4 separate regions of the Homo sapiens genome follow, and all the other regions are linked to region 4. The links are contacts of gene promoters, found by promoter capture Hi-C in blood cells and fetal thymus (Javierre and others, 2016). All regions are on one chromosome and are shown on one strand. The core of a region is centred on a gene start or on the middle of the fragment in contact, and the rest is flanking DNA. Distances in the headings are between cores, read along the strand shown. Region 1 has its middle 22 kb from the start of LINC00899. Region 2 has its middle 12 kb from the start of MIRLET7B. Region 3 overlaps LOC124905135 (collagen alpha-1(III) chain-like). Region 4 holds the start of PKDREJ (polycystin family receptor for egg jelly).

The links. Contacts are between HindIII fragments. The CHiCAGO score rates a contact against its expected background, and 5 or more counts as called.
Region 1: a fragment that was not itself captured here is called in contact with the fragment with the promoter of PKDREJ in region 4 in 1 of 17 cell types (neutrophils); the score reaches 5.6 in neutrophils.
Region 2: a fragment that was not itself captured here is called in contact with the fragment with the promoter of PKDREJ in region 4 in 8 of 17 cell types (erythroblasts, megakaryocytes, M0 macrophages and 5 more); the score reaches 15.0 in erythroblasts.
Region 3: a contact is called between a fragment that was not itself captured here and the fragment with the promoter of PKDREJ in region 4, in 1 of 17 cell types (neutrophils). The highest score is 7.1, in neutrophils.

What each region holds. Positions count from the first base shown.
Region 1 is chr22:46,021,480-46,024,467 of GRCh38, reverse strand. No RefSeq gene overlaps it. Among named protein-coding and RNA genes, the nearest start is that of LINC00899, 22 kb to the left of the region's middle. The HindIII fragment of the contact is 1,959 bases long and covers 341-2,299 here.
Region 2 is chr22:46,124,362-46,127,104 of GRCh38, reverse strand. No RefSeq gene overlaps it. Among named protein-coding and RNA genes, the nearest start is that of MIRLET7B, 12 kb to the right of the region's middle. The HindIII fragment of the contact is 6,464 bases long and covers 1-2,743 here.
Region 3 is chr22:46,060,227-46,063,143 of GRCh38, reverse strand. The region is part of intron 1 of LOC124905135 (collagen alpha-1(III) chain-like); the gene reads right to left. Among named protein-coding and RNA genes, the nearest start is that of PRR34, 7.5 kb to the right of the region's middle. The HindIII fragment of the contact is 1,600 bases long and covers 550-2,149 here.
Region 4 is chr22:46,261,989-46,264,790 of GRCh38, reverse strand. It overlaps PKDREJ (polycystin family receptor for egg jelly), which reads left to right and starts at 1,448. Exons shown (of 1, transcript NM_006071.2): 1 at 1,448-2,802. The coding sequence starts at 1,469. The HindIII fragment of the contact is 7,014 bases long and covers 1-2,802 here.

The DNA of each region.
Region 1 (2,988 bases), core at 71-2,570, 240 kb after region 4:
GATGGTGAAGAGTTGGTCTAATTTTGGCAGGGAGGTAAATCGCTGTAAAATGGAAATAACAGCAGTACCAACCTCCCAGGGTGGGTGAGGAGCAAGCAAGCCTGAAGCACAGTCAGTACTGGTGGCCGCAGCACAGCTTCCGGGTCCTCATTTTGCTGGAAGTCTGGCTGTTCCAGAGGCAAGGCTGGGACATCCTGAGGGTGTCTGGGAGGGAGATCCAGTTCTGAATTCTTGAGTCCTTTGTACTCCTACTAGTAAAATATAACTTCTGAAATGAAATTTATGTCATGATTGATGGATCTTCACTCCCAAAGACATGCTTGGAAAACAAACAAAAGCTTAAAAGGCTGCAGCCCCGAGGTGACTGCTGTGTTGTCAGCCTCACTGACACCTGGGCACCTTGGAGAGTCGGAGCTGGACAGGGCTGTGGTTTCTGGTGGACAGAAGGGGAGACTGAGGCTCTGGGCTTCTGGTCTAAAGCCAGGATGGGCCAGGGTGAGAACCAGTCTCCCGCCTTCTCGGTCTTTCCACTACTTCACCGGATTCCTCGGATATTAGCAATGGAAAAGCCATCCCATGTTTGGGAAGGAGCGAGTCATACTTTCCATCCTGGCTTCTTGCGAACACCTGGGTCTCAGTGAGTCCCCCACCCATCCCACGCAGAAAAGCTGGGCTGCGTCACCCAGGGGGCGGTTAATGAGGATGCTTTGGTGGTGCTGACATCACGGACAGGGCTCCTGTGTGGATCGGCCGCCTGGGCTCCAGCTGGCAGCCATGTGACTTGCCCCCTTGGCTGCCATCGCCCCAGGGAGGGGCCTTGGGCAGAGGGGCTGGCTCAGTGGGCAGCTGCCAGGGCTGGTGGGGGCTGACCAGAGGGTATTGGCAAAGTCTTAGAGGTTTCCGGGCCCAGGAGAGAAGGAAGGGAGTGTGGACACTCGGCCTCTGTTTCACGGCATCCTCCCACCTTTGACCTCAGTGGTGCGAGGGGAAGGAACCAGCCCTGGAGCCGCCTGCCTGGCTTGACCCTGGCTTGCTACTCATGGTCCCGTGTGCCTAGACAAGCTGTTTCACCTCTCCAGCCTCAGTTTCCTTCTGTGTGAAATCGGATAACAATCGTAGGGTGTAATGTGGAAACTGCAGGGAATTAGGAATTAGGACGGTGCCGGGCACATAGTAAGTGCTTAGTAAACGCTAGCATCCTGGAGTCTCCCTCCCTCCACACCCAGGCTGTTTTGACCTGTGCTCTGTACTTCTGTTCGCCAGGCCTGAGGTCCCAAACTGCAAACTGCTCCATGTGGATGGGCTGGGGGCTTCCTTTCTGCCTTATTCCCTCCCTCTCTCCCTCCTTTTCTTCCTTCCTTTCTTCCCTTCCCTTCCCTTCTCTTCCCTTCCCTTCCCCTCCTTTTCCTCCTTCCTTCCCTTCCTCCTTTCTTCTCCTCCTTCTTCATCTCTCCTGTCTCTCTCTCTCTCCCTTCCTGCCTTCTTTCTGTAAACTTGATTACTGTCTGCTTCTGTGCTGGTGTCTGTGCTACTTTCTAGAGACAGAAAGTAAAATTAGACAGATATCGACTCTGTTATTCTGTGCTTACAATCTAGTACAAAGCAGCAGGCATTGGCTAAATCAGAGCAGTACTGTCCAACAGACATTTCTGTGTGCTTGAAATGTTCCATATCTGGACTTTCTAGTGAGACAGCTACTAAATGCATGGGACTGTTAAATACTTGAAATGTGGCTCGTGTGACCCAGGAGCTGAATTTTAAATTTCATTTAATTTTAATTAATTTGCATTTATATTTATTTATTTTTGAGACAGGGTCTCACTCTGTTGCCCAGACTGGAGTGCAGTGGTGTGATCTTGGCTCACCGCAACCTCCGCCTCCCAGGCTCAAGTGATTCTCCTGCCTCAACCTCCCAAGTGGCTGGGATTACAGGTGCGCGTCACCACCACCCAGCTAATTTTTTTATTTTTAGTAGAGATGGGGTTTCACCATGTTGGCCAGGCTGGTCTTGAACTCCTGACCTCAAATGATTCACCTACCTTGGCCTCCCAAACTGTTGGGATTACAGGTGTGAGCCACTGCCCCGCGCCCAGCCTGCATTTATATTTAAATACTAACACGTGGCTAGTGGCTACCATATTAGATGGCACAGATTCACAGTTATACTCCCATTACATCACCCTGTATTATTTCTCCATAACACTTATTATAGTTAATTTAAATTTGTGAGTTCATTTTTTTGTACTCTGTCTTTCCACAATGGCGCGTACCATAGTCTGGTTTCCTTGGAAGCAAAGCTTGAGACAAAGACTTGTCTGCAGACATTTCAGCTGGAAATGAGATTCCTGGGAAAACCAATACAAGGACGTTTCACTGAGTCAGTCACAGCTGCAGGAGGCTCATACCTGCTCCTGACGGGGGTTTCTGGGGGATCTCATGAAATATATCTCAGAACTGACCACCTGTGAGAAGAAAGAGAGCATTTCTCCATCAGCTCAACTTGCCACCAGTCAAGGTGGTTCTGTAGACATTAACTTCCAGCATTCCCATGTTGCACGAGTGTGACTGCAGAGGGCTCCACCAGGACCACTAAGTCGCATATTCAGAGAAGCACCTGGACAGGAAGCAAGAGATCTCCAGCATGGGCCCAAGGCAAGGCACTGTCTGGCTGCTGGCACCCACATGAAGCTGGATGAAGCCACTGTAAGACCGGCTGTGGTGGGAATGGCTGGAGTTGGGGTTGAGAGGACCTTGAAGTGGAGCACAAGAGGGGCCTGGTGTAGTCCACCCCTTGCCTCCCTCACATGTGCATGTGAGTCTTTGATGATGTCTAGTCTGCCACAGAGTTCCCTTCAAGGTGGCAGCCAGCAGCAAGATCTGTAAGTTCTTAAAACACGATTATTAGTGGAACAAGCTATAGTCTCCACTGCTGCAGCTGGTCTGAGGTCGTGATCGATAACCTCATCTCAATCCTCCACCACAATTCCA
Region 2 (2,743 bases), core at 91-2,590, 140 kb after region 4:
CACCTTCAGGCCTCTGCGCCTGTTGCGTCCTCCACTTGGGAAGGGCCTCTCTTTTTCTCCTCCGGGAACTCCTACTCATCCTTCAAAGCCCAGATTGAGTGTTACCTCATTTGCCTGCCTCACTTAGTGACAGATGCTCACTTGGTGTCAGCTCTGCGTTGTGCATGGGCTGGGCACAGGTGCACAAAGGAAAGAGGTTCCGGCCAGACCCACAGCGTGGCTCTCTCTGGCAGCCACATGGCAGTCGTCATCTGTGTACTTGTGGGTCTCATTGTCTGTACAGGGCTCTTCTGAGACTCACTGGTGTGTCACTCAGTGTGGTGGCACTGAGATGCCAAGGTGGGGGTGGGGGAACCTCGGGGGAGGGGCCCCTGGGCAGGGAGGAGCAGCCTGTGCCGAGCTCCAGCCTTTCCGGGCAGGTCTCTGCAAAACACTCCTGACCTTTCTCCTGGGGCGGCGGCCCAGGGCACACGACGAGGTTCTGAACTCATGGGTCACAGACACGCCTCTTGTCTGTGGGGCTGGGCTGAGCCCCACATGTGACTTGGGCGCCTGCCTTGTGGAAGGCCTTGTGCCGTCACCCCTCCAACCCAGCCTTCCATGGAGAGGTTCAGAATGGATCTCAGGGTGTGGCTGGTGACAACACACCCTGAGATCACACAGGGAGTGACAGCAGAACCAGGGGCCGGGAGCATGGCTGCGGGGCAGCAGTGAGCACCGCGGCCAGGGGTGTGTGGGCTGGTGCCACCGAGCCTCTGTCCTACCTGCTGTGAGCCTCAAGACTGGAACATTCTCCTGGCCCCTTCTGGGCCAGGGCCAGCTGCAGCCTGCCCAGCCCTTCCAGTGCCCCCAAGAGAGGACACTGAGCCTGGTGGAAGATGCTGCTCCCCGGGACAGCAGGGCGTGGGCTGTGCAGCGCCGGGACGGGCACTTGGGGAAGGTGTCCGTCTGCATGGGACGTCTTGGCTCATCTGGGAAGGGAGCATTGAGAGCTGAGAGCAGGGCCGGGGTCCAGATCATCCCAGGGCGGGTGGGGCCTGGGCTGAATGAGCCAGCCGGCCCGGCTCACAGCCACCAGGCTTCCTCTGGGCTCCTGAGCGCTCAGTGCCTTGGTTCGGCTGTGTAGAATGGGGCAGGTGTTACCAAGGTCTGGTCCAGGGCTGCCAGAGGCTGGAGGCTCTTGCGGGCTGCCTGTGGAGCCATGGCGGTCAGAGGGTGGAAGACGCCACTCTCAGGCGATACTCTGAGACAGGTGGGAGGGCACATGGCCCGCCCAGGGGTCACTGCCAGGTCCACGCTGGCCTGGCCTTGCAGTGGGTGCTGTCCCCTTCCCAACACTCTGGCCAGTGGGGCCGTAGACCTGACCCTCAGCCCCCATGCAGAGCTGAGCCCTGGTGAGGCTGTGTTCAGACGAGCTTGTCCTTGGCTCTGGGGACAGAAGGTGAATCTCCAGCCCACCAAGCCACAGGTGCCATCTTGCTTCTCCACAGCTCTAGGTTGCTCCAAGGAGCCTGCTGCATGGTGCCCGTTCCACTGGACTCCACGGTGAGCCCCAGGAGCAGCTGCCGGCTCCACCCACTGGGTGTCCCCTGTCTCTCCCACTGCCCCTCCAGTGGGAACCCTCAGTCATTGGCTCAGGGCTGAGCATTTGACCCAAAGCCCCGCCAGCCAGAGGTTACCTGGCAACTTTTGTGGGGTTGTTTGGAAAGGGGGAGAGAGAGCTTTGCACTGGTGGGAGCTAGCGGGATGGAGGAACGGCAGGCTCTACTGCCTCATGGGGACCCTGCTGAGGCTGGGGCCCGTGTGGTAGAAGCCCTGAGGGGAAGCACCCTTCGATCCAGCCACGCCTGAAGCTGTACCAATTCCTGGATTTTTATGTTATATAAACAAATAAATCCTCTTCTGGGCCTGCGCTAATTTGGTTTGGGTTTCTATCCCCTGAAACTAATGCTTCCCCACAAATTCCGTGTCTGACTCTAGGAAGGACTTGCTTCTTCAGGGGTGGGTGCTCCCTGGTGCCCACAGAGTCTGTTGCCCTCCCATCCCATCAGTATACCACATAGCAACACTCACAGGCTCCATGACAAACACACAGTCACAGAGTGTGGATTTGGGGCTTCTCACTGCTTTTCCTACTCTGGCAAACTCCTACTCATCCTGCAAAACCCAACTCAGGACTTCCGTGCCCCAGGAAGTTCTCCATGAGCTCATCCCCCTTGCCTTCCCCTCACCCCACACTGTCTGGGTCCTCCCTCCTATCCCATGCTCCCAAGGCCCTGGGCATTCCTCCCTTGACTGAACTGTTCCTGGCCCATGCCATGTGTTGAAGGAGATAAGAGTTTTGAGGGCTGCACCACCACGCTGATCGCTTGAGGCAATGGTCATTCTGTCACGGCCAGTCTGCAGTCAAGGCTGCACCGGGCCACGAGCCCCTCCGCCTCCAGCTATCCACAAGTGCCCATGATGCCAGGACTTGGGGATGTCTGGGTACAAGTACAGGGGCACAGAGGACAGCCAGTGGCCAGGAAGCCTCTGGGGCTGGTGGAGGTGAGGCTGGGTGTGCCTGTTTGTGCAAGTGTGTCGGGGCCTCGGGCGCTCCTGACGGGCATCTTCTAGGCTGTGGGACCTTGGGAAGGTTTCTCTGCCTCCCTTCACCTCAGTTTCCTCATCATTAAGTTGGGGAGGTCAGATGTCACAGTCTGTGAGGCAGCCCTGCATAACACCAGGCCTGGTGTTGGTGTGA
Region 3 (2,917 bases), core at 100-2,599, 200 kb after region 4:
AGTAAAGAGGCACCGGGCTATTTGGCAGTCATTCTATGAAAGGCAAGAATCACAAGGCATGTCTCCCAAGGGCTTTCCTTCCCAGGTGGAGATCTGCACCGCACACCCAGAAGGTGACGGCCACACCTGCCTACCCCCACTCATGGCCCACGGCAGGACCCCTACCCAGCTCCATCCTCACAACAGCAGGGCATATCCGACAACTCCTGAACACCAAGTCTTCCCAAAGCCAAATTCCACGTTAGAATATTCCACCGTGCAATCAACAAGCTCAAAAACAAACTCAACATAAAAAAAAAAAAGTCTTCCTGGCAAAGCCTAGCAGTATTTACAGCTGGTGAACAAAACTGAAATAAGTGAGAATCAGGTAGAGGGCCTTGCCTGGCGGTGCCAGGAACTGGAAGCCTTTCTGCTCATCTTTGGAGGCAAAGGCTTTCAAGAAGAGTCCTTTCTGTGCTTTCCTTTTTGCACCTAATTACAAAAGAAAGTACCTTTTTAAAAATCAAACAGAACCCTTACGAAAATTACAAGTGCTAAGTCTCAAAAGCTTCTTGGGATAAACATTATAACCTTGTCCAACATTTGAGGAAAAAACGAAGAACAGAAAGACGTGAAATGGTCAAGGCCTGAATTTCGTGTCAACGGATGCATTCATGGCCTCAGCATCCTCCTCTGGCCTAGAACCGTTCCCAGGTGCTGGAAAGGTTGTGATGTGGAGGAAAAAGAGGTTGTCGGGGAGGGAGCCCACGTGCAGAGGGTCTGAAGGGTTCCGGCTTCCCTCACCAGGGGAGTGGGGTTCGCATAGATGGAGCGTCTTTTCTTTCCCGTGTGACAGGCTTCCAAGCAGAAATAAAGAGCAGAAAAAGAAAAACAAGAACTAATACACGTCTCCTCTGCATCACGGCTGTCTGAAATCCTTACGGGGCCTGCACAGGGACCCCGGGAGCAGTGTCTCTGCGGCCTCCCCCAACCCCGCTCCAGGGGACAGGCACCCACGTGGCCGCGGGAGTGCGTGGGGACCTTGCGCGGACCAGGAGCACCCGGCCCCGGGGCGGGAGGTGCGGGCCAGTTTCAGCCGGCCAGCTGCGGACCTGGGGGGACACAGGGCCCAGGCCCGCAGCGGCTCTGAAGGCAGGGAGGCCTCGGTGCGCCTCCTCCAGGCAGCCCCAGGGCGGGCACGCGAGGCAGGGCCGAGTCCGGCACCAGGCCTGAGGCTCGGGGTCCGCGGCGGGCGGGGAGGCCGGTCTGCAGCGGGGCGGGGCGGGTCCCCAGGGTTCGAACCGAGGCCTGGAGTCGGAGCCTGGGCCCGGAGCCGCTGCAGAGGGTCCGGGCCGGGGCCGGGGTCCGCCTGGGCAGGGACGAGGGTTCGAGCCGGGGTCCCAGGCCGGGGTCGGGTCGGAGTTGGCGGGCGGGTCCGGGGCCTGCGTCCGAGGGCGCGTCCCAGGCAGAGTCCAGGGTGCGGTCCGGGCAGAGGCGGCGGCACGCGCCCCAATTAGCCGCAGGCCGGGCGGCGGGGCTGCCCCATTGAGGGCGAACAAAGGGCGCGACCCCGGGGTCAGGAGTCGCGGGCTGCGGCCGCCGCTTTGTTCGGCGCCTGTTTACTTTGCCCAAGCGGAGCTCATAAGATATTGACTAAAGCGGATTAGGGGGTCGCGCCCCGGAGGCCCAGGCGGGCTGCGGGAGGCTCCAGGGCCCGCGGGACCTCCCAGCCGGGCGCGCCTGGCCGAGTCGGCCCCTTCCCCGCCGCCCGAGCGTCCCCAGCCTCGCCTCCGCCCCGCTCTGCCGGGGAAACTGAGGCTCCGGCCGGGCGGGCCCGGGAGAGGGGGCTCTGCGGCCGGCGGGCAGCCCGGGACCGCCCGGAGCCAGCCGGGAAGTGATGGGGTTGCCCGGGGCACTGCATTTTAAAGAATTCTGCCCGTCCCGATACGGCAGGTCCTGGGAATCCATTTTACAGTGAAGCAAGTCGCACTTGCCTGAAGGCTAGGAAATATTAGTTGGAAACACGGACAGATTTTTCCGTATAACAAAATCCTGGCACATTATGGTTAAGAAAGAAACTTCTAGTCTCTTAACGCAAGCGATGCGCTCCTGGCGTGAATAGGCAGGTGACCTAAGAGTGCAGAGAAATATTTTAAGGGCAATACAAGCTTACGAAAATAAATGTTTTCTTTCTTTTTAAAAAAAAGAATAAGACAACTGATGAGTCTAAATAAACCACTAGGATTCCCACTCAAAGACCACAATTAATCTGATACTATGAATCCAGGATCTACGGACTTCTCCAGTAATTAACTTGCAGAATCTTTTAAATTGTCCCTAGAAAACCAAACAGGGGAAGCAGAAAGCCCCAACTGAAAATCAGGCACCATGTCTCACCACCGGAGGGTTGTCACCCAACCAAGGATCCAAGAAGAAGACGGGCCTTTTTCCACCCTTCTTAAGGCTATTGTTTAGGGAACAAAAACACTTCCCGAGTCCACACAAAATCTTAATTGAGATTTTTCTGCCCTGGCGTACAAGTATATGTGTTTGGTTAGAAAACTCACATAGTATTGGATTAATAAGCTACCAACATATAAATCTTTTATTAAAGAAAGAACAATATTGACTTACTATTCCTATTTGTTGGTCTAACGAATACTTCTGCTACGTGTATCATCCATCCCCAATGACTGAAAGAAAGCATGCCATTTGTCTCTATTTGTCTATCTTCCTATAATGAGTCTTTAAAAATAGTTTTTCCCTGATTATAAATATACCACGTGTTTAATGAAGGCACAGGAAAGTGTAAATTATACGCAATTTAAGAATAAAATATAAAGACAGATATTTAAGATATAATTTCAGTAGTAAATAAAAAATATGGGTTAAGTATAAAATACACAAAAAAAGGAAAATTCACCTACATGCCGCAATC
Region 4 (2,802 bases), core at 199-2,698:
CTGCCCGCTTCAGCCTCCCGAAGTGCTGGGATTACAGGGTGAGCCACTGCGCCCAGCCAGTTGCTTTTGATTTTACAGGCTCATAAGCATAAGCGACTTCCTTTGTCTCAGACAGGACTTTGGACTGTGGACTTTTGAGTTAATGTGAAATGAGTTAAGACTTTGGAGGACTGTTGGGAAGGCATGATTGGTTTTGAAATGTGAGGAGATGAGATTTGGCAGGGGTGGAATGATATAGTTTGGCTCTGTGTCCCCACCCAAATCTCATCTTATAGTCCCATAATTCCCACATGTTGTGGGAGGGACCGGGTGGGAGATAACTGAATCACAGGGGCAGTTTCCCCCATATTGTTCTGTGGTAGTGAATAAGTCTCAGGAGATCTGATGCTTTTATCAGGGGTTTCCGCTTTTGCGTCTTCCTCATTTTCTCTTGCCACTGCCATGCAAGAAGTGCTTTTTGCCTCCTGCCATGATTCTGAGGCCTCCCCAGCCATATGGAACTGTAAGTCCAATTAAACCTCTTTTTCTTCCCAGTCTTGGTTATGTCTTTATCAGCAGCATGAAAACGGACTAATACAGGGGAGGGCCAATTAAGACCACGAGTTTGAGACCAGCCTGTGAAACACAGCAAGACACCATCTCTACAAAAATAAAAAATAAATCAGTCAGGTGTAGTGGTGTAGACCTGTAGTATGGGAGGCTGAGGCAGGAGGATTCCTTGAGCCCAGGAGTTCAAGGTTACAGTCAGCTATGATTGCACCATTGCACTCCAGCCTGGGCAACAGAGCAAGACCCTGTCTCTAAAATCATTCAATCCATCAATCAAGTCCCAAAATATACAGCAAAAATGGACAGAGTTAAAGAATGAGGCCAGGCACAGTGGCTCATGCCTGTAATCCCAGCACTTTGGGAGGCCGAGGTGGGTGGATCACTTGAGGTCAAGCCATTGCACTCCAGCCTGGGTGACAGAGACTCCGTCTCAAAAAACAAACAAACAAACAAACAAACAAAAAACAAAACCCCCAAACCAACTAGAAAGAAAAGAGCAAAGCGACCCCAAAGTAAGAAACCGAGAGTCAGACCTTCCTGGGCGCCCAGGGATCTCACGGTTCCCTCCTGATCTCCCATTTTGTGACTGGCTTTCCCAAGGGTTCCTGCTGAAGCCCCTTCTCCGTGGTCAGCTCTGTGGTCTGCACGGGGCTGAACTGCCCTCCTGAGCCATCCTGACCCTGGGCCTGCACACACTTGGGGACGGAGAGGGAAGAGGTACCCAAGAAGTCCCCAGTGCCGACTGACCCCAAGCTCCGAGGTCCCAGCTGCTCTCTGGGACTCTGTCCCTGGGACCCCTCTGCCAGCGCCCTTCGACGCCCGAGACCCCCACTGTCCCCAAGACCCTCACTATCCCCGCGACCCCGGTGGCGGTTGGGCGCGCCTCGCGGCCTCTCCCAGCTTCTCCTGGGCCGGCGCCATGAGGCCTGGGCCCGCTCTCCTCCTTCTGGGCGTGGGCCTGAGCCTGAGCGTCGGCCGCCTCCCGCTGCCGCCGGTTCCTCGCGGGGCACAAGCCGCCGTCTCCGGGGCGCCCGGTGGCCTCCTCAGGGGCGCCCCGGGCCTCGGGGTGCGCGGCGGCCGCGCCCTCCTCAGTCTGCGGCCCAGCGCGGTGCGGGCGGGCGGCGCTGTCCTGAGCGGCCGCGGCAGCCTCTGCTTCCCCCATGGCGGGACCGGGCGGCGCTGGTACTGCCTCGACTTGCGCGTCCTGCTCAGCGCCCAACGCCTGCCCTGGCCGGCCGCGCCCGCGCTCGCGCTCGTCGACCTGCAGCTCTCCGCGCGCGGCGGCCGCCTCTCCCTGACGTGGTCCGTGCGGCTGCCGCGCTCGCCCGGGCGCCTGGCCTGGGCCTTCCGCCTGCGGCTGCTCGGACCCGGCGCCGCCCGCCCGGCCTCCCCCGCGGCCCGCGTCTCCCCGCGCTCCGCCGCGCCAGGCCCGCGGCCCCAGCAGGGCTTCGTGGCCCGCACCGAGTGCCCCACAGACGGCCCCGCGCGCGTGATGTTGCAGGCCGTCAACTCGTCCAGCCACAGAGCCGTCGAGTCGTCCGTGTCCTGTCAGATAAACGCCTGCGTCATCCAGCGCGTGAGGATCAACACGGACCAGAAGGGCGCCCCCGTGCGCCTGAGCATGCAGGCGGAGGCCACCATCAACGCCTCGGTGCAGCTGGACTGCCCGGCCGCGCGCGCCATCGCCCAGTACTGGCAGGTGTTCTCCGTGCCCGCCGTGGGTCAGGCGCCCGACTGGACGCAGCCCTTGGATCTGCCCCAGCTCGAGATCAGGAACAGCCCCTTGTTCATTCACATCCCCAATAATTCGTTACAGTGGGGAGTGTATGTGTTTAATTTCACGGTGTCCATCACCACAGGGAACCCCAAGATGCCCGAGGTGAAAGACTCGGACGCCGTCTATGTCTGGATCGTCAGGAGTTCCCTGCAGGCGGTGATGCTTGGCGATGCCAACATAACAGCTAATTTCACAGAGCAGCTGATTCTGGACGGGTCCACGTCCTCGGACCCAGATGCGGACAGCCCGTTACAGGGACTCCAGTTCTTTTGGTACTGTACCACAGATCCCAGAAACTACGGTGGGGATCGAATAATCCTGGGGAGCAAGGAAGTCTGTCACCCCGAGCAGGCCAATCTGAAATGGCCCTGGGCCTCGGGCCCTGTACTGACACTTTTGCCAGAAACACTTAAAGGCGACCACGTGTATTTCTTCAGAATGGTGATTCGGAAGGACTCTAGGACAGCGTTTTCTGA